4 separate regions of the Homo sapiens genome follow, and all the other regions are linked to region 4. The links are contacts of gene promoters, found by promoter capture Hi-C in human tissues and cell types (Jung and others, 2019). All regions are on one chromosome and are shown on one strand. The core of a region is centred on a gene start or on the middle of the fragment in contact, and the rest is flanking DNA. Distances in the headings are between cores, read along the strand shown.

The links. The method cuts DNA at HindIII sites, captures the fragments that hold promoters and counts their contacts. A contact is called where the count stands out against the background at its distance.
Region 1: a contact is called between a fragment that was not itself captured here and the fragment with the promoter of RAB5C in region 4, in 1 of the 25 tissues and cell types used here (liver).
Region 2: a contact is called between the fragment with the promoter of ATP6V0A1 here and the fragment with the promoter of RAB5C in region 4, in 2 of the 25 tissues and cell types used here (dorsolateral prefrontal cortex and spleen).
Region 3: a contact is called between a fragment that was not itself captured here and the fragment with the promoter of RAB5C in region 4, in 4 of the 25 tissues and cell types used here (H1 embryonic stem cells, heart right ventricle, lymphoblastoid cells and 1 more).

Annotation. Positions count from the first base shown.
Region 1 is chr17:42,472,855-42,477,941 of GRCh38, forward strand. ATP6V0A1 (ATPase H+ transporting V0 subunit a1) reads left to right here. Exons shown (of 22, transcript NM_001130021.3): 6 at 4,806-4,888. Among named protein-coding and RNA genes, the nearest start is that of ATP6V0A1, 17 kb to the left of the region's middle. The HindIII fragment of the contact is 4,239 bases long and covers 876-5,087 here.
Region 2 is chr17:42,457,135-42,462,429 of GRCh38, forward strand. ATP6V0A1 (ATPase H+ transporting V0 subunit a1) reads left to right here and starts at 1,744. Exons shown (of 22, transcript NM_001130021.3): 1 at 1,744-1,829; 2 at 3,714-3,877. The coding sequence starts at 3,761. RefSeq lists an enhancer at 1,364-1,453 and a silencer at 1,604-1,813. The HindIII fragment of the contact is 16,608 bases long and covers 1-5,295 here.
Region 3 is chr17:42,599,906-42,605,171 of GRCh38, forward strand. All of the region lies in intron 1 of RETREG3 (reticulophagy regulator family member 3), which reads right to left. Among named protein-coding and RNA genes, the nearest start is that of RETREG3, 6.8 kb to the right of the region's middle. The HindIII fragment of the contact is 8,726 bases long and covers 1-5,266 here.
Region 4 is chr17:42,152,188-42,157,437 of GRCh38, forward strand. It overlaps RAB5C (RAB5C, member RAS oncogene family), which reads right to left and starts at 2,802. Exons shown (of 6, transcript NM_004583.4): 1 at 2,706-2,802. It overlaps RAB5C-AS1 (RAB5C antisense RNA 1), which reads left to right and starts at 2,213. Exons shown (of 3, transcript NR_187282.1): 1 at 2,213-2,522; 2 at 2,812-2,921; 3 at 3,581-4,736. KCNH4 (potassium voltage-gated channel subfamily H member 4) reads right to left here. Exons shown (of 17, transcript NM_012285.3): 17 at 4,704-4,931. RefSeq lists enhancers at 2,254-2,874, 2,784-3,078, 2,961-3,070. The HindIII fragment of the contact is 20,335 bases long and covers 1-5,250 here.

The DNA of each region.
Region 1 (5,087 bases), core at 1,745-4,244, 320 kb after region 4:
GTCAGAAGTATGAATTATCAGTCTCCACCCTAGACTTACTGAATCAGACACTGTGGGAGTTAGGCCTAGCAGTCTGTATTTACTAGGTGATCCGGAGGCATGCTAGTTTGAAAACTGCTGGGCTAGAGAAGGTCTGCTGAGGATGTGATACATTCCTCACTAATTTAAGGATTTGACTCAGAAGCCATTTAATTAAAAGGATCTGCTGGGTCAAGGGAAAGGGGAAAAACTCATATGAATTTAATTGCCTGGTCCTTTCAAGAGTCAGAAGGTACAAATATTTATTTAGTTTGCTCACAGAGTCGAGAATTTTGAGACTAGTGGTAACTTCTTTCGCCAGTCCCTAATGACATCACGTTAGAGGGTGTGGGACAGTGTGATTAACTCTAAGTGTTTAAGGTCTTTTGCAATAGGCATCGCCACTTAAGCTGTATGTTTTTAATGAACCTGGAATTCCAGCATGCTCACTGCCCAGACGTTATTGTATTTTTGTTCACTAATTCACTGAGCATATAATGAGCACCTACTTATTGTGAGACACAAGATGAGTAAGACATGGTCCCTGTGTTTAAGGAATGTATCATTCAGTCTTAAGAAATACCCCAGAACATGACGCTTTCATATGCTCACAGATGTGTGCTTTTCTAAACATATCCAAGCTGCTACCCACAGATCTGATGTAAACCTGGCCTTGTAGTCAGAGCTCAGCTACCTTTTAGCATTATTTGGAGCTTAATTCTTTTACCTTCCCTGTCCCCATTTTTTTCCCTTTTGATATACTGTTTAGTTTACTGCTGAGATATTGCTATCTCATATGAAAATGTCTTTCAAGACCTCGTAAGTTTAAGAATGAGAGCCAGCTTCCTATTATGGTTCATTTTTGGAGAAATTCCGAATAAAGACTGATAGATGGATTCCCTTAAGGGAAATAATTATTTAAACTATTAATTTTCTAATGAAAAGAACTTAGTAAAAATGAAAATAAGAGGAACCACTTGGAAAAATGATATTTTAAAATCATAATTTATGGATTTAGGACTTTTATTTTGTGAATAATAAGTCTAAACACTAAATGCCTGTTTTGAGAAGGCAGACTCTAAGTCTTCATGATCTTTGTGCCCTTTTCATGCTGGGGTTGTTTTCCCTCTCCTATTTTTTTTTTTTTTGAGACAGAGTCTCGCTTTGTCATCCAGGCTGGAGTGCAGTGGTGCGATCTTGGCTCACTGCAACTGCCGCCTCCCGGGTTCAAGCGATTCTCCTGCCTCAGCCTCCCGAGCAGCTGTGACTATAGGTGTGTACCACCATGCCCAGCTAATTTTTGTAGTTTTAGTAGAGACGGGCGTTTCACCATATTGGCCAGGCTGGTCTCGAACTCTGACCTCGTGATCTAGCTGCCTCAGCCTCCCAAAGTGCTGGAATTACAGGTGTGAGCCACCGCACCCAGCCTCCCCCTCCTATTTTATTCAAAACTTTTTTTTTTTTTCCAGTCTCTGGAAGTACTTAGAGCACAAGACCGTGGCTATGAGAGGTTCTTATGCTGCTTTTGTCATCAATTCCCCTTCCATTCCCAGCAGTCTCACTGCATTGCAAGTCTCCTGGCAAGAACCTCTCTGCCTTGCCTGTTCTTGCACTAGCTCACAGCCTCAGCCAGGTTCCTTTCCATAGACCTTGCCCTGCTGCTGCGTAGCAGCAGGCTCAGGTGTCACTGCCACAACTTTGCATCTGCACATGCGCGTGCACTTCAAATAATGCGAAAGATAGGACACTTGGGACCCTCAAATGTTGGAAACTTAGGATTTTTAATGAGATTTTCTTCTGTGTCTGAAATTATAATATTTGCAAAGGGCCTAAAACACTACCAGTTTTAAACCCCTTATTTTGTGTAATTTGGTGACTATAATCAATAATTCACAGTAATGAGTTAGCAGAAATGGCTAAATCAGAAAATGATTCTATATTTAGGCATAGGAGTTATGATTGGCAGGGTGTGTGTAAGGTGAAAAATAAACATATTGAATAGTCTTATGATTAAAGATGATTACAAATTTGACTTAGTCATTTCTTATCTAGGGCATTTAAAATGACTTGTTAATGATTATCCTTTTCTAAGTCTTCTTGCTTATGAAGAACTGTAAGAGCTGGAGAGATTTCTCTGCATCTTTTACCATAAGCACCATAACATATGAGAACATAAAGAAGACTGGAAAAGTAATGGTTAATGGCATGCAGATTCCCTGCTTTCCTTTCCTTCTCAGTTTTCCATCCATCTGCTTTCTTTATTTTTTTCCCATCTGCCATTTCCTTTGGGGCCTAGGTGAATACCTTAAGTAATGAAATATAATTTTTTTCTCGATGTAGATGGCAGTAATTGTTTGTTCTTGGTAATTGACATAGCTTGAACTGGATGTGCTATTTATACTTAATTGCTGTAGAAACAGAACTGAAGTTCTTCTACTTCCTTTTTGTAAGGCGTGGTTTTCAGTATCTGAATGGAGAAACCAGAGGGCATAGCAGTAATGTAGAGGCATATTCACAATGTTGTTATTAGAGAACCCAGATACCCTTAAGACAAGCTTGTCCAGCCCATGGCCTTCAGGCCTCAGGACAGCTTTGAATGTGGCCCAACACAAATTCGTAAACTTTCTCAAAACATTATGAGATTTTTTTGGAATTTTTTTTTTTAGCTCATTAGTTATCATTATAGTGTATTTTATGTGTGGCCCAAGACAGTTCTTCTTCCAATGTGGCCCAGGGAAGCCAAAAGATCAGACACCCCTGCTCTAAGATTTAGATACTTTCAACCACATGGTTTTAGATACTGCTTTAAAGGCCTTCAGTTAGTGAGTGGTTCTAGTCATCCTAGTTTCTCACCAGGCACAATTTTACTTAAAAATTTGTAACTTTTCTCTCTAAGATAGAATTCTTAAGTATGAAGTGGTGAAATTAGCAATTCAAATATTATCGCAAGTTTCTGTTGAATTTTAATTTTGTTGTTTTTTATTCTCAGAGAGTCCTAGATAGAGTCTTTGAAGTGGTCTAGTTGCTAAGTACTGTTTGCTTTTCCATCAGTTAGAGCACATGTGTTTGCATTGAGTCCGATATTTAGGGTTGACTTAAACCACGTCTTGTGAGACAGGCAGGCAAGTAGGATGGAGTCTTGTGAGTAGTCAGGCTCACTGGTTTTTGCCAAGGGATAAACCAAGAACAAGTTGAAATGTTGTAATCATCGGGATCCTGAAAACAAGTTGCTTGTAGTCAGCTGATTTGATTGCAAGTAGAAACCGAAAGAACCCCCTCAACTTACATGTAACAGCCAGTGGTAACTAGTGTCTCCATGATCTCATCTTAAACTTTTCCAATCTCATGACAGTATTTCTCTGCACTTCTGGTGTTGATCCTTACTTCCCAAAATGATTGCTTTCTATTTTTTAGGCCTTCAGACTTATCATCTGGTTTATACACAGTTTTTCCCCCTTTTTGCTATGTTTATGATCCCATGACTTTATCAAGTTATGGTCCCTGTGCCACTTTTTAAGAGTGTGGCTGACAGGGGTAGAATCAAATTGAAATTTGGAATGAAAATGATAGAGAAAAACTCTTCTGATTTTTTGTCTTATTGTGCTTTTGAAGAGGATGATTGTTCTGGTTTACTCCTAGTTTTTGGTCAAACAAGTATTGCCTGGGTATTAGAGTTGGGGAGATGAGGCAATGGAGAAGTTGATTGGACTGGTTTTTGTTTTGTTTTGTTTTGTTTTGTTTTTTGGAGCAGCTTCTCCTTTCTGATGGGAGTAAAGGGTGGTAGGATGAGTTCGGTAGAGAGAGGCTAGGAAATGTAGACCTGCGTGTGGGAAGATCCTTCTTCATTTCATTGTATAAACTGTCATGGTGGAAGTCATTTTAAATCTTACCAATTAAACCAGCCCATGAACTCTAGTTTGGTTTATTATCTGTTGTTTTTCCTTCACTTTACTTGATTCTTGAGCTGTGTTCTCAAGAATCCTACAACTGTAAAGCCTATGTGAACTTATTTAGAAGATTCCTAGTCAGAAAATGGGACATTCAGATATGTTTTTACAGGCCTGCCCAGCTATTGTGCTTCTTATCCTTTTGAAGACATAAATACTCTTTAAATCCCATGGCTTGGATCATTCTATAAGTGGCCATGCTGAAAGTTCTCATATTCTGAATTTTAAAGGGGCTGGAAACGTAGATACCTGGAGCTTCCCCTTCTGTCTTTCTCCAGACTTCACAGCATTCAAAGACAGTGGCAGTGCCTTGCTTCTTCCTTGGAAAGAGAGCCTCTATCTTTCACATTCTCACGTAGGGAAAATTCTAGTTTGTAGCTGCCTAGAAATTAAATGTTCAGAGTATCTGCAGAGTCTCTTCATTATTGCACAGAAAGAAGAGATATTTTAGCTTCCTATCTACATGCAGAGGTATTTCCTGGCACTTTCATCATTCATTCAGGGAAACGTAGGAGAGAAAATGGCTTCCACCAAGTAACAGATTTATACATGTCACCATCACTTAATTTTTTTTCCTTTTGCTCCTTATTTCTAAAACCATTTCCCCAGATGCTTTACTGGGGCAATTATGCTTTCTTTACCTCAAATTTATTTTCTGTGTTTTCATCCCCTATTCTTCTTGTCTTTTTATGGATATATCTTGTCTTTTCGTGGTTTGTTTTCTTTTTCATCCTTATTTTCTGAACCTGTCTCCTGGTTCCTCGTTGCCTGCATGCCACTAACTATTTTCATTAGATATTAATTGATTTGTGAATTCAGGCTGAATTGCATCATCAGCAGATGGCGGATCCAGACTTGTTGGAAGAGTCCTCATCCCTCTTGGAGCCAAGTGAGATGGGAAGAGGCACTCCTTTAAGACTTGGGTAAGTGCCATGTCAACTTTTCGGTATTCAGTGGGGCCATGTTCATCTCTTCTGTTCAGAAGAGCAGTGAGACTGGGGATTCACTTGCTACCAGGATATGCCCTCTTCTGAGCCTATTGAGATAGTCCTACAACTCTGGATTCATGCCTGAGTTGCTCTGTCAGCTCTCTGCTGGGTCCATAAGTGAAGCTGGGAATAA
Region 2 (5,295 bases), core at 494-2,993, 300 kb after region 4:
AAGAAGGTTGTATTGAAGTCAGGTTATATCTTCACTCACAATATGAGACAATAAATTCAAATAAAACGTCCATTTTTGTCCCCTTATTTTGTTTAGGCTGGTAAAGCAGGTTTGATGATGTTTTTGTCAGGTTGACAAAATTATCAGCAACAAGTTTTTATCTGGAATATCTCCCTCATTACACTTGAATTTCAACAGGGTTCCACCACCCAGGAAGACAGAATAACCGGTTTTCTGAGTTTTTCCTGATACAATTCTGGTTATCACAAACGACTTGAGATCCCTACTCTTCTTTAAAAGGGCAAGAAAAGGGAATCAATATCAATATTTGATAATGGCATTTAAAAAATAATAGACATCACTTTTGCGTTTAAAAAATGTTTTTCAATATTTAATTTACAAGTTGAGTACAAGCCATAAAAAATGTTTTTAAAATAAATTTGAGGAATTGAAAACTCCTAAGTGGTCAATTGAGCCCACATGAATCTACCAAACAAGACTGAAATGTACTTTCACAACATATGGTCTGATGAGGTTTTTCCTGTTAAACAGAGAAAAATAGACCCGGGGAAGTTGCTGGAAGGCATGAACCATGTACCATTTAAAGAGAGGTTTTCCATACTTATGCAAATGAGACCCCGTTAAAGACTCTACTACAGGATCTAAAGCTAGCCGCTCCCCAGTCTGGGGCTCAAATGTTCTCATCTGTAAAATAAGGGAAAAGAGAAAGGGTGGTATATGTGTCTGCGTATTAATTATTTGAGTGTGTGTGTGAATTCTTTGGATATGAAAATAAAGAGAGAAGACATTAATTATTTGGGTGCGTATGTGTGAATTAATTCTTTGGATATGAAAATAAAGAGAGGGCCGGGCGCGGTGGCTCACACCTGTAATCCCAGCACTTTGGGAGGCCGAGGCGGGTGGAGGCCAGGACCAGTCTGGGCAACATGGCGAAACCCCATCTCTACAAAAAATACAAAAATAGCCGGGTGGCGTGGTGCGTGCCTGTAATCTCAGCTACTAGGGAGGCTGAGGCAGGAGAATCCCCTGAACCCGGGAGGCGGAGGCTGCAGTGAGCCGAGAACGCGCCACTGCATTCCCGCCTGGGAAACAGACCATCTAAAAAAAAAAAAAAAAAAAAAAAAAAAAGGCCGGGCGTGGTGGCTCACGCTTGTAATCCCAACACTTTGGGAGGCCGAGGCGGGTGGATCACGAGGTCAGAATTCGAGACTCAGCCTGGCCAACATAGTGAAACCCCGTCTCTACTTAAAAAAAAAAAAAATACAAAAATTAGCCGGGCATGGTGGTGCGTGCCTGTAGTCCCAGCTACTTGGGAGGCTGAGGCAGGAGAATCGCTTGAACCCGGGAGGTGGAGGTTGCAGTGGGCCGAGATCACGCCACTGCACTCCTGCTTGAGCAACAGAATGAGACTTCAAAAAAAAAAAAAGAAAGAGAAAAGACAACCTACCCCAGTATAAGGGGTAAGAAAAAGGATTCAGGGAGGCTCAGGAACTTAAGGCCTCGAGCACCTGCACCTCCAGCCCCACCCGCTAACCCTCCCCAGCGTGGAGATACAGCACAGGGGCCAACATGGCGTCAGCACGCTGGGTCTCGCCTGCGACCCCCGTGACTCCGCACTGCTGCAGCCCGGGCGAGGCTGCGCCCCATTGGCCAACTGCAATGAGGTCATTGCGGGGGCGGGGGCCGGCGGCGGCGCAGGGGCGGGGCTTTACGGACGCAAGCACGTCGAAGCGCTGCTCCTGGAGCCGCGGAGGGTGCGGGTTTGGCTGCGGTGGTTTCTGTGGCGGTTGCTGTGGCGGAGTTTGGAGGTGAGTGGGGGCTGTAGGTTTAGCGCAACAGGGAGCGGCCCTCGATGGACGTAGGAAATCCTTCTAAGAGCCCCCTTGATTGTCAGAGGAATTAGCGGGGATCTGACGTCTTCGAGATAAAATGGGGGTTCGCCCCCTCCTTGGGCACCCCTCCTCTGCCCTGAGGAACCGGAGGCTCACTGCCCTTTGGAAGCCCCGCATCTCTTCCCTGCTTTAAGGGGTAGGCGGAGGAACCGGAGGTTATTGGATAGGCAGAAGAATTTAGGGGGCTTCTTAAAGGGTTTCTCAGTTTGGGGGTTTTCCTCTCCTTTTTTCCCATCTCAAGGTAGATGAGCCTGAGTCCAGAGAATTCCTGCTCATTGGGTAGACAGGAAATGAAGCAGGTGAATACCGTGGGAGGAGGCGAGGACCGGATGACAGGAGTGAGATTCTTCTAGGCAGGGCGCGGGGGCGCTGTAGTTGGACTCATCTTTTGCAGAATTGCTGTTTCTTCATATTTTGTTTTGTGATCGTCCAGAACTACTTTGGCCTAATTAGTTTTCTGTTAGCCTCCATTGCTATAGAGATATTCTTGGGAGACCTATAATCATTAAAGAGCAGGAGGACGGAGGCGACTCGTTGGAGGCTTATCATTATCCACAGCTCCTGAACTATGCTGACCAGGCCTAATTTTATGTGTTTAGAGGTTGTAGAATCTCTCTTTGTTTAAGGGTGGTGCCGGTAACAGCTGATTTGGATGATTCAGATGTACAGAATCTTAAAGTCAGCCTGCATATTCTCTTGAGAAGTCCTTGCTTATGTCTGAGCTTGTGTTACTGTCTTGAACATCACATGCACAAAGGTTTGTTCGTTCAGATTTCTCAAAATGTCTCCCAGCCTTCCAGAAGAGTAAATCTTCCTTTGATGTCAGACTCATCTATCAGTACTCAGTATAGATGCCCTTATGACACTAAAAATACTGTGCATTTTTCTGAGTTTGGATACTGGACAGGCTGTGCCTTACATTAGCTGATCGAGAATAAATAATTGCAGTTTCAGGACCACTGATAGCGCCAGTTGTCTCATACCCGGCAACAGTAAGACAGCACTAAAACGAAACCTTTATTGGCTCATGAGATTTGACAGATGGAAGAATGTAATTAATCTTGAAGGTAGGGTTGAGAAACAGAAAGCTGCAGAGGTGGAAGGCTTATTCTCTGTGGCTTGATAAAACTGCTTTGTCATTATCAGTGTGTTCCTGTCATGCTTGATTTGAAATTGAGCTTAATATGCAAACTGGTTGCTTTTTCCAGATGACGGTTATTTGTTTGAATTCCTAAGTGGGGAAATATTGTTTTCTGAGGAATCTGGAAGATTAAACCCTTTAGTGTAGCCATAGCTTTAGGATAGTGCCAGAACTTTGGGCTTTTAGAAATGCGCATTGTCAGTAGAAGGGAGAAGGATAGTTACAAGGCAGACATCTTTATGAGAGGGTATTGAAGGCCTCTTCTGTTTGTTTCCTGCACTAGCAAAAACAGATTGAGCAGTGTGAAACTCACTGCCTCAATATTGTGTCCTGGGTATTTAAAGAGTTGTTTGAGGTTCCCAGTTCCTGTCTTTAATCTGGATACATTCTTATCAGTTGAGTTGCCCAAAATAATTGTCATTTGATCCTGATGTTGACTGGAATGGAAGTGACTTTTCATCTGACACTCTGTGGGACAGAATTCAGGAACTGCCTTTGCAATTTCTCCTTTCCATCTTTCTAGACAGGGTGTCAAAAACAGTTGTTGACCTGTCCTCATGGGGTGTTAGAAATGTAAATGCAAGAGCCGTAGTGGGGTGTCATTTGCTCTTAGCCCTCGTGGTAATTTCCAAAGTTATGTCATTTTCTCTTTGCTTCAGGTTGGAGAGAAATCCAGGTACTCACTAGACTGGTACCTTCTGCCACCATGGGGGAGCTTTTCCGGAGTGAAGAAATGACACTGGCCCAGCTTTTTCTACAGTCAGAGGCTGCTTATTGTTGTGTCAGTGAATTAGGAGAACTTGGAAAGGTTCAGTTTCGTGACGTAAGTAGTTGTGGGGCTGCGACTTGATTACTGCTGAACTCTATTGCTATCGTGGTCAGATGCCTTATGATGAATGTTTTGTTTTTTATTTGCAAAAATAACATTATAGCACTGACTTCCTATTGGCAGAATGCACATTTTGAGTTGTCTTTCTAAAGGTGAGAATGTTTTGTGCCAATCTTTACATGCTTTTGCTAGCTCCCACTTTCAGAACAGTCCTAAGCATTCTCCAGGTAATTGTTTGGGATGCAGGGAGAGGTTACCAAACTAACCTGATCAAGGCTTTCACTTGCTAAATAGCAAGGTATTTAAAAAAATATATTGCAGTTTTTCCATATAGTAGGACATTTTAAAAAAAATAAAATTTGAGGTATCCAGCTACAGATATATAGTATATAAATAAGCATATACTGAATATTCATTATTTTGGAATATTATACTGGGCACTTGGAGAAGCTATCTAAAGAATATGGACAATCTAGCCTGGGTACAGTGGCTCACGCCTATAATCCTAACACTTTGGGAGGCTGAGGCGGGCGGATCGGGAGGTCAGGAGTTTGAGATCAGTCTGGCCAACATGGTGAAACCCCGACTCTACTAAAAATACAAAAAAAATTAGCATGGTGGCGCAGGCCTGTAATCCCAGCCACTCGGGAGGCCGAGGCAGGAGAATCGCCTGAACCTGGGAGGCGGAGGTTGCAGTGAGCCGAGATTGTGTGATTGCACGCAGCCTGGGCGACAGAGCAAGACTCCGTCTCAAACAACAACAACAACAACAAAAAACTTGTCATCCTTAATTTGCAGTTCTTCATCTGGTCCTATGTTGTCCCTCTGCTTAACATCTATTGGCTCTATTCAGCCTTCTTTTCTTTTACTTATGCTGTACTTCAGTCATACAAAAAAAAGAGATAGGGGCCAGGTGCAATGGCTCACACCTGAAATGCCAGTACTTTGAGAGGCCAAGGCAGGAGGATCGCTTGAGCCCAGGAGTTGGAGACCAGTCTGGGCAACATAGGGAGATCCCGTCTCTGCCAAAAAAAAAAAAAAAAAAAAAAATGCCGGATGTGGTGGCACATGGCTGTGGTCCCAGCTGCTTGGGAAGCTAAGGTGGGAGGATCGCTGAAGCCCAGGAGGTCGAGGCTGTAGTGAGCTGTGATTATGCCACTGCACTCCAGCCTGGGTGACAGAGCATGACACTGTCTCAAAACCAAAAAAAAAAAAAGAGGTGGGGGGAGTATTATAATGACCACCTATGTTTCTACTATCTGCTTAAGAGGGAAACATTCCGTGTATAATTGAAACCTCTGTTTCTCTTTGCTCCATGCCAGTCCTTTCTTCCACCCCAGAGGTAACCCGTACAGTGATTTGTTTTGCTTTTATTTCTCCTATGTGTGGTTTTTGTTGTTGTTGTTGTTGCT
Region 3 (5,266 bases), core at 1,851-4,350, 450 kb after region 4:
ACAGCTTGAGTCCGGGAAACTGAGGTTGCAGCGAGCCGTTATCGTGCCACTGTACCCCAGCCTGGGTGACAGAGCGAGACCCTATCTCAAAAAACAAAAAAGCAAAACAGAAAAAACCACCTAAACACTAACAAATTGGTTTGTGGGGAAAAAAAGAGTTTAAAAAAAAAACAACAAATAAAACCACACACAACAGGCCACATGTGGTACCTAAAGCCTGTAATCCCAATACTTTGGGAGGCCGAGGCAGGAGGATCACTTGAGTCAAAGAGTTTGAGACCAGCTTAGGCAACACAGCAAGACCTCATCTCTACTGAAAAGAAAAACATTAGCTAGGTGTGGTGGTGCACGCTTGTACTCCCATTTACTTGGGAAGCTGAGGTGGGAGGATTGCTAGAGCCAGAAGGTTGAGGTTGCAGTGAGCTCTGATTGTGCCACTGCACTCCAGCTTGGGAGACAGAGCAAGACCCTGTCTCGAAAAGAAAAAAAAAAGTATCATTTATGACATTTATAAGAAAATTGGAAATGTGAACACTGACTAGAATCATTAATTTTTTGCATGTGATAATGATGGCAGATGTTTCTTAAAGTCTCTTTTTCAGAAAAATATACTGAAATACCTAGATTAAATGATATGACACATCAATAATTTGTGTCAAACAATAAGGAAGACGTAGAAAAGAACTGGGGTATGGAAGACACAAAATTGGCCAGGAATTGAAAAAAATAATATTATGTACATGGTGGCACACAATATTATTCTGCCTACTTACACATGTTTTAAGCTTTCCATAATAAAATATTTTTAAAATGATCCATTATCCACATATGTACTCTAAAAAGTGTGAAGACAGGCTATTCTCTTCATTAAAAAATTCACATATAAAAACACTATGGTTTTAAAACTTTTTCACATAATACATAGACAATTAGCCTGATGTGGTGATGAACTCCTGTGGTCTCATCAGCCATGAGGTGGAATGATCACTTGAGCTCAGGAGTTCCAGGGTACAGTGAGCCATGATCACACCACTGCAATCTAGCCTGGGTGACAGAGTGAAACCTTCTCTCAAAAAAAACAATGAATGGGCCAGGCGCAGTGGCTCAAACCTGTAATTCCAGCACTTTGGGAGGCTGAAGCAGGTAGATCACTTGACATCAGGAGTTCAAGACCAGCCTGGCCAACATGGTGAAACCCCATCTCTACCTAAAAATACAAAAATTAGCTAGGCATGGTGGCGGGTGCCCGTAATCCCAGCTACTCAGGAGGCTGAGGCAGGAGAACTGCTTGAATCCGGGAGGCGGAGGTTGCAGTGAGCTGAGATTGTGCCACTGCACTCCAGCCTGGGCAACACAGGAAGACTCCATCTCAAATAAAATAAAATAAACTAAGACGGTGGCTCAAGCCTGTAATCCCAACACTTTGGGAGGCTGAGGCAGGCAGATCACGAGATCAGGAGATCGAGACCATCCTGGCTAACACGGTGAAACCCTGGCTCTACTAAAAAATACAAAAAATTAGCCGGGAGTGGTGGTGGGCGCCTGGAGTCCCAGCTACTCGGGAGGCTGAGGCAGGAGAATGGCGTGAACCTGAGAGGCGGAGCTTGCAGTGAGCCGAGATCGCGCCACTGCACTCCAGCCTGGGCAACAGACAGAGCGAGACTCTCTCAAAAAAAAAAAAGAAAAGAAAAATAAACGAAAAATAAACTAAGAAGGTTCCAACTTTTTTTTTTTTTTTTTTTTTGAGACGGAGTCTTGCTCTTGTTGCCCAGGCTGGAGTGCAGTGGCGCGATCTCGGGTCACCACAACCTCTGCCTCCCAGGTTCAACGGATTCTCCTGCCTCAGCCTCCCAAGGTAGCTGGGATTACAGGCATGCGCCACCATGCCCGGCTGATTTGGCATTTTTAGTAGAGATGGGGTTTCTCCATTGTTGGTCAGGCTGGTCTTGAATTCCCGACCTTAGGTGACCTGCCTGCCTCGGCCTCCCAAAGTGCTGAGAATTATAGGCATGAGCCACTGCGCCCAGCCAAAAGTTTCCAATTTTTTGATGTAATAAAAGCTGAACTATACATCACTGAGCATGTTACTGGGTCAAAGGCATTAACTATTTTAAACAAATAGCTTTATTGGTCGGGCACCGTAGCTCACACCTGTAATCCCAGCCTTTGGGAGGCCGAGGCAGGTGGGTCACTTGAGGTCAAGAGTTCAAGACCACTTTGGCCAACATGGTGAAACTCCATCTCTACTAAAAATACAAAAATCAGCCAAGACATGGTGGTGCACGCCGGTAGTCCCAGCTACTTGGGAGGCTGAGGCAGGAGAACTGCTTGAATCTGGGAGGCAGAGGTTGCAGTGAGCTGAGATCATGCCACTGCACTCCAGTCTGGGCCACAGAGTAAGACTCCGTTTCAAAAAAAAAAAAGTAAGAAAATAGCTTTATTGAGATAATGGTTTGTATACGATAAAATTCTCTTTCAATTCATCTGCCAGCAGCAGAGATGAAAAAAAAATCACAATGCTGTACGACTAATAGCCTTATGTAATTTCAGAACATTTTCATCACTCCAAAAGAAACCCATACCCATTAGTATTCTTTCTCCATTTCCCCCAGCCCTGGAAAAGCTTCTTAAGTGGCTTAAAATATGTTACCAAACTACTTGCTAGAAAGGCTGTCCAATTTATGTTCCTATCAGCCATATGCCCATTTTTCCATATTTTCCCCAGAATTAATTATGATCATTAAAAATACTTAAGGCCAGGTGTGGAGGCTCACACCTGTAATCCCAGCACTTTGGGAGGCCAAGGTGGGTGGACTGCTGGAGCCCAGGAGTTCAAGACCAGCCTGGGCAACATGGTGAAACCTTGTTTCTACGAAAAATACAAAACAATTAACCAGGTGTGGTGACACACACCTGTAGTCCCCACTACCTGAGAGGCTGAGGTGGGAGGATGGCTTGAGCCCAGAGGTTGAGGTTGCAATAAGCCATGATCACACCACTGCTCTCGAGCCTGGGCGACAGTGAGATCCTGTCCCCCGCCAAAAAAAAAACTTAAGATAGAAATTAGTAAATAATTTCCATTTACATATATTTGAATTCTTTTCTTATTTGTGAGAGTGAAATTTTATATATCCATTGATTTTTTTTTCCCCTTTTGTGAACTGTCCCTCCACTCTGTCAGGGACTAAAATCCAATTAAATGATCAGTCTAAATAAAATATCCCTGGAATAGCAATTGGTGTCCAGAAACATCGTGAGAAATTCCAGAACCAAACATAAACTTTTGTGATTAACTATACCATGGAGCCTCACTATTAGTACCAGTAAATTAAAGTTTGCTATAATCATAAATAATGACCACATGTCTATTTTCAAAGACATGATTTCTAGGTTCCTTTGTTATTACAGATTAAGATTGTCTCAAGGGCACTTCAAAACAAAGCATCCCATTCTACAGGGACAGAAAGCCTGTTACTGTACAGCACTTGTGACCGCCTGGTTAATGAGCCCAAGTCACCGGTAAATTCAAAGGAAAAATTAACCCAACCTATATCATGCAGTGACAGTTGTTGCTTGCAAAAAAACCAGAAATGAAATCAGCTAGCTGCTAACAGTGGAGAGAAAGCACTCAACCATACAATTAGGGCAGATAAAAACTAAAGGTAAAGAGAGGGGAAGTAAATAAACCAAGGCATCCTTGGGAGTCTTCTCGGCTCACAAAGACAAGAACCCTGCAAAGACTATCATCAGGAACATTCACTCAACAGATTTCATTAGAAATCTGATGTGTAGCCGGGCGCGGTGGCTCACGCCTGTAATCCCAGCACTTTGGGAGACCGAGGCGGGCGGATCACGAGGTCAGGAGATTGAGACCATCCTGGCTAAAACGGTGAAACCCGGTCTCTACTAAAAATACAAAAAATTAGGTGGGCATGGTGGCGGGCGCCTGTAGTCCCAGCTACTCGGGAGGCTGAGGCAGGAGACTGGCGTGAACCCGGGAGGTGGAGCTTGCAGTGAGCCGAGATCGCGCCACTGTACTCCAGCCTGGGCGACAGAGCGAGACTCCGTCTCAAAAAAAAAAAAAAGAAAAGAAATCAGATGTGTAGATTTTTTTTAACAGAACAAATATCTCTACTTAAATGGGCTCCCCATCTTCCATTTCTTGTTTCTATTATTTTTTACTCAAATCCTAACCTTCTAACTCAGAATTGCTGTATATCCTTAATCACTTTTTTGGGTCATTTTTATTTATTTATTTTTTTGGGGGGGCGGACAAAAATAAAATTTTTACATTTCATTTGTGAAATAACAAATTCTATAATAACCTCCTAGAAATACAGTATGGTTCACTGAGACTAGTGACTGCAAAAAGCAGATCCCAACAGAGATCTCTACTTGGGACTCAGCTTGTGGACTGCTCCAAAACAATATTCCTAATTCATAGACTATGTAGATTCACAGATTGTTAAAAACCACAAAGCAGTCAAGGTGCAGTGGGTCATGCCTGTAATCCTAGCACTTTAGGAGACCAAGCCGGGAGGGCTGTTAGAGATGAGGAGTTTGAGACCAGCCTGGGCAACATATTGAGATTCTGTCTCTACAAAAGTTTTGCAAATAGGCTGGGCCCAGTGGCATGTGCCTCTAGTCCCAGCTACTTGGAAGACTGAGGCAAGAGGACTGCTGGAGCCCAGGAGGTAGAGGCTGCAGTGAGCTATGATTGTGCCACTGCACTCCAGCCTGGGCAACAGAGGGAGACCCTGTCCAGCCCAACAACCCCCGATTCCCCAGCAAAAAAAAAAAAAAAAAAAAAAAACTGAAAGAGCTCAGCAGTTATGTAGGCCTCCTTGAACTATCTCTTCATGTTAGGTGGGAGAGGGAGCTTGGAGTTCACACATTTCCAGTGTTCATTTACCCTCCTCTGATCTCAGAGTACAAGTCAAACCAAAAAGTTACCCAAACCTGTTCTTTTCTGATCCTGTCAGGATACATGCTTGTTGACTCTCACATTCTTCCCCCAAATCACTCATTCACAGATGAGGTTGAGACTAATGAAAACACAAGCTATTGGAAGGAACGGCCTGACATTTCTATTATTATGCTAGAGACAATAACAGATCAGTGACCAGAAGTAATCTAGGCTGGAAGACCTCTGATATGGCCACCATAAATTCTCTGGTACCTGAAAAAAAAAAAAGTATGAAAACCTTGGAATACTATGGTGACAAGGTATCTACATCTATCTCCATCTTTTTTTTTTTTTTTTAAG
Region 4 (5,250 bases), core at 1,552-4,051:
AGGCACCTATGAGGAATATGTATGAAAATAATTTTGCAACCTTAAAATGATTTTTAAAAATTAGTGTTACTGTCCCTCTACAGTTTAACAGCCCTCTAATTGTGAGAGGCAAGAGGGCAGGGGAGGAACAGCATCAGAAAGGAGGGGTTCTGTCGCACACGGAGCCATCGCTCTCTCTGCCAGGCAGAGTCAGACCTCTGCTTGGACTCTATAATTTCTAGGTGCCAGAAGTGGCTGCATAACGACCCAAAGCACTGGGGCCTGCCTCGTCTCTCTAAATGGCAGAGCTTCCCCTTCAAAGTCGTTTCAGGTTGGGTGCAGTGGCTCATGCCTGTAATCCTAGCACTTTGGGAGGCTGAGGTGGGTGGATCATCTGAGGTCAGGAGTTCGAGACCAGCCTGGCCAACATGGTGAGACCCCATCTCTACTAAAAATACAAAAATTAGCTGGGCGTGGTGGTGCATGGCTGTAATCTCAGCTACTCAGGAGGCTGAGGCAGGAGAATCCCTTGATCTCGGGAGGCAGAGGCTGCAGTGAGCCAAGATTGTGCCACTGCACTCCAGCCTGGGTGACAAAACAAGGCTCTGTCTCCAAAAAAAAAAAAAAAGTCGTTTCAGAGTCAGAGCTGGGAGAGCATGTCCAGACAAAGAAAAGAAGGTCTCCTCAGAAGGCTGGTCGGCCTCATCCCAGCACTCCTGAAGAGTGACAAACTGCGGTCTACTCCTGAAGACCTAAGTCTGGTCAGAGACCAATGGCCAGTGAGCAGTCAGGCCTCTCTGGCCCTGCCCCTCAGATGCCCAGGCTGACCAGATCAGAGAAACTAGGTTGGTTGAAGAAGTCTCCAATGAACCCCAAAGGAACCCACACAGATACAGAGCCTGTGATCCAGCTGTTGACCCTAATAAGGAAGGCTTCTTCTGTTGTCCGATAAAAAGTGAAATAAGTAGGCCGGGCACGGTGGTTCACACCTGTAATCTCAGCACTTTGGGAGGCTGAGGCGGGTGGATCACCTGAAGTCAGGAGTTCGAGACCAGCCCGGCCAACATGGCGAAACCCCATCTCTACTAAAAATACAAAAATTAGCCGGGTGTGGTGGCAGGCGCCTGTTAATCCCAGCTACTCAGGAGGCTGAGGCAAGAGAACTGCTTGAACCCAGGAGGCAGAGGTTGCAGTGAGCCAAGATCACGCCACTGCACTCCAGCCTGGGCGACAGAGCAAGACTCCATCTCAAAAACAAACAAACAAAAAAGTGAAGAAAGTACATCCTAGCTCTACTCAAAAGACTGTAGGAATCAGATACTAGCCACTGTCCAGAAGCCCTCAAACACACCTCAAGGCCAAAAAACACAGCACTTTTAAGTGGCAAGCGAGGGTGGTAAAGGTAGCCCAGAACACTGAAGAGCTACAGAAGTTCCCACAAACTGCACGGCTTTCCGTCCCTTCCTCCACTGTAGATAGCAAGGGTCAGTCATGGCCTCAGAGCCAGGCTACTCCTCGTTAAGGTACAGTCTCCGGCCTGTACTTTGGCCACATAACAAAGCTTGGTCTGAGACAGCAGCTATTTCACACACCTAAGCCCCAAGCAACAGACAAGGATCAGTCAATATGGTTGAGGGAACCTGCACTTTCTGGCATGTATCGGAATTCCTCAGGCTACAATTAAAAATCCAGAACTGCCATTGTGATCTTGACTTAGTCCTCAGTAATAAGTCCAAGCCCTGAAGGGATTGCAGACAGACCCTGGCGTGGTGTGGACCTGTTGCTCAGGGAGGTGTATGTGTGTGTGTTTGGGAGTGGGAAAGAGATGGCCCTTCAATTCCAGACTCCTCATTTTGGGTCTTATTCTCCTCCCTATAGACACACGGACAGCAGTCCCAAGAAAAGCAGTCCCTTTGAGGCGGCTGGGAAACCACTCACGTGCTCTGGGAGGACAGAGCTGAGCCTGGAGCAAGGGGGGAGGGGAAAGAAGATAATGAATGGGCACATCCACCCTGATCTGTGATCTGTAGCTAGGATTGAGCAAACCTCAGCTAAATTCTTCAGAGGCAGAAAGAGAGAGACACTCAAAGAACAACATAACTAGAGGACAGGGCTGGGAGACAGAAGGGGCAAAACAGGAAAACAGCTCATTTCTAGTAAGTGACTTTAAACTCAGCTGAGGTCCTGGTTGGTTCTCTGGCTTGAGGAAAGAGAGGAAGTAAGGAGTTGCGGGAGCGCACACACACTTCTGTGCGTGTGGAACGGTCTCACCCAGACGACCCCCCTCCCCCAAAGGAAATCGAGATATTCCTCTAGGGCTAGAGGGGACAACTGGTTTTGTGGGACAGGAGGAAGGAAAACGGCGACAGACAGCACTCCCTGTCACTTCTAAAAGAGAAGAGGGACAGGTTCCTTCACACCTAGCAAAGATCCTCCGATTCTGGAAGCAGGGGGAGCGGAACTTAGGGTACCTCTCTCCCACAACTAGAATGGACAGGCCAGAGGACAGTCATAGCGGTTTCCTTAAGGCTCACCAAAGGCAGGTAAGCTAAGGAAAGAAGCTCCCCACCTCCTATGGCCCGACGCCTGGGGAGCCCCTCAAGAGGGGGCTACGGGTCGGGGGAGGGGTCAGTATCCCCCTAAACTGGGGCTGGGCGGGAGGAAGGGCTGCCCTGGAGATGCTTCAACGCAGGCGAGACACCAGGTCCTGGGACAAGCATACTCACGGCGGCTCCGGGGCGGCGGCGTTACTTGGGGCCGGGGCTCGGACGGGATCCGCTTCTCTCCCCGCCGGCGGTGTCCCAGGCTCCGGCCTCCACTTCCGCCTTTCAGCCGCTCCGGATCCGGATCTCCACCTCCGCCCCGCCCCTCAATACTCCCAGGTGATTGACAGTGCGGAGACCAATGGGAGGCACTCTTGGCCGACCTACCCAGCGGCGCCGGTAGGAACGCGGGAGTGGCGGTAGGGAGCGCGCGAGGGATCGCGGGACTTGTAGTTCGCAGCGCTGGGAGGAGTCAGTGGCTGCCTGGGACTTGGGCTTAGGGTGGAGCCGGCTGACTGCGAGGCGGAGCCCGGCCGGAACTTTTTTTTTTTTTTTGAGACGGAGTCTTACTCTGTCGCCCAGGCTGGAGTGCAGTGGTGCGATCTCACTGCAACCTCTGCCTCCCGGGTTCAAGCGATTCTCCTGCCTCAGCCTCCCGAGGAGCTGGATTATAGGCACGCACCACCACGCCCGACTAATTTTTGTATTTTTTAGTAGAGACGGGGGTTTCGCCATGTTGGCCAGGCTGGTCTCGAACTCCTGACCTCAGGTGATCCGCCCTCTTCGGCCTCTCAAAGTGCTGAGATTACAGGCCTGAGCCACCGCGCCCAGCCTACGGCCGGGAACTTTTTAAGGCTAACCCTGCCATCCGCGTCACCGCCGGTTCCGGACGCCCCGAGGGAAGGCGGGTGGTGGAGCGTTGGAAGAAGGCAGAGGATTGTGTGTGCAGAATTGGGAAAGAAAAAACGTGGTGCGAATGAATATGCACGCGAGGCCTCAGTCCTGTGAACTCGCTGATCTGGAGAAGCCCTTGTCTGCACTGTCCGCCCGATTGCCAGGGGCGTCTGTGATTGGGAAGGTGAGGAAAGCGCTGCAGGAAGAGTTCTCTGCAGGATGCTGGGTGAGATCAAAGGGAGAGCTTCTGCCACCACCTCCTACTTGGTGTGTGCGGGGGCCGGCACAAAGACCATCTCTGCCTCTGCCTTCCCCTGCTCCTAGCCAGGGTCAGCTCTTCTCTCTGACGCGGAATACAGAGCTGGACAACCTCTGCCTCGGCCCTCTCCATCCGTAAATAAAGACTAGAACCACCCCCACTCTGCACTCTCCCCCTCTATGGATCAGGAATATTTGTTTTTTCTGCTCCTCTCAATATGGACTGGGCCCGCTCCTGATTCCTCCCACCCTTACCTCTCAACACAAACCAGTACCTCCTCTTCTTTTGCATCTCATCCTCAAGGGACACTACTGAAAACCTGTGTGGAATCAAAGCTCACCGGAGACAGCTGTGGCCATTGTGCCTATAACGCCAACACCAGGCATATCCTGGAGCCTCAGCTGGAGAATTTACCTGTCTTGGACAACCTGCCACAAAACTGTGCCCACATCTAGTTCCATCTGGTCATCAGGGCGTCTCTCTTTCTTACACCCATAACACACAATCCCCACTTCCGCGCCAGTGTTCATGAGAAGTGAAAAGGAAGAGGGAAGAGAGGGCTTGTTGGGAGGACAGAGGGGATGGGGCAGAGTGGGATTCCTAGCAGGTTCTGGCTGGTGACAAGCTCTTCCCCCAGCCCCCTTGCCATACCCAGTTCTGGAACAGTTCCTTATACAGGAGGGATGGGTAGTCCCCTAGGCCCACCTTTCCAAGGCTGGAGGTGGGCCAAAGCCAGGACTCTGTCCTTCCCACATACTGTGTGCATACATGGCTGTGACTGGGGTGCAGGGGAGAGAAGGGGGTATAATAGGCCCATAGTGACTAATTAAGTTTCTTCCTCAACCCTGGGGCCCCTGGTGGTGTGAATGTGGTGCCAAGTAGATTGGCTGGTGCCTCTGCCCTTCCTAGAGATAGCAACTGGGCCCTGGGGTACAACGAAGGTGAGGGTGGGGAGTGATTGCTGTGTTGGCTCCTCCAAAGCCCTGGGGCTCTCAGAGTAACCCCCAGAAACACCCAGAGCCAATAACTACAAAAATAAAGAGTTTATTTCCTATCCAAAAGTGAGCCCAGGGTGTTGGGTGGTAGAGGAGAGCTGGAGACCTGGGCGAGTTTTGGAGCAGTCCAGGCCCTGAGTGAGACCATGTTGTAATGGGGGAGAACAGGCTTGGCAGCGGTCTGGGGTCAGGGAAAGGATAGGGAGTGCTGTTGGGATTTTTGAGTTGCTAGCAGCAGAAGAGACCACCTTGAGAGACAGCCTGCAGAGAGACAGAAACAGAGATGTTGACAGACCCACGCCTAGGAGTAGAAGCAGACATTACTGGGCCCAAAAAGCACCTGTTGGGCACAGGGACCTGGGAACACACTGTTAGGTAAGGCAGAGGTTGCAAACTCAACCCCTGGGCTCCACCCCGGACATTCCAAATTGGATGAGGCCCAGGAATCTGCTTTTTATTTTTTTATTTTTTTGAGCCTCCGCGCCTGGCAGAATCTGCGTTTTAATAGGATCTCAGGTAGTTCTGATGGACACTCAAGTTTTGAGAACTCAAATACCCACAGAGACCAAACAAAAATTTC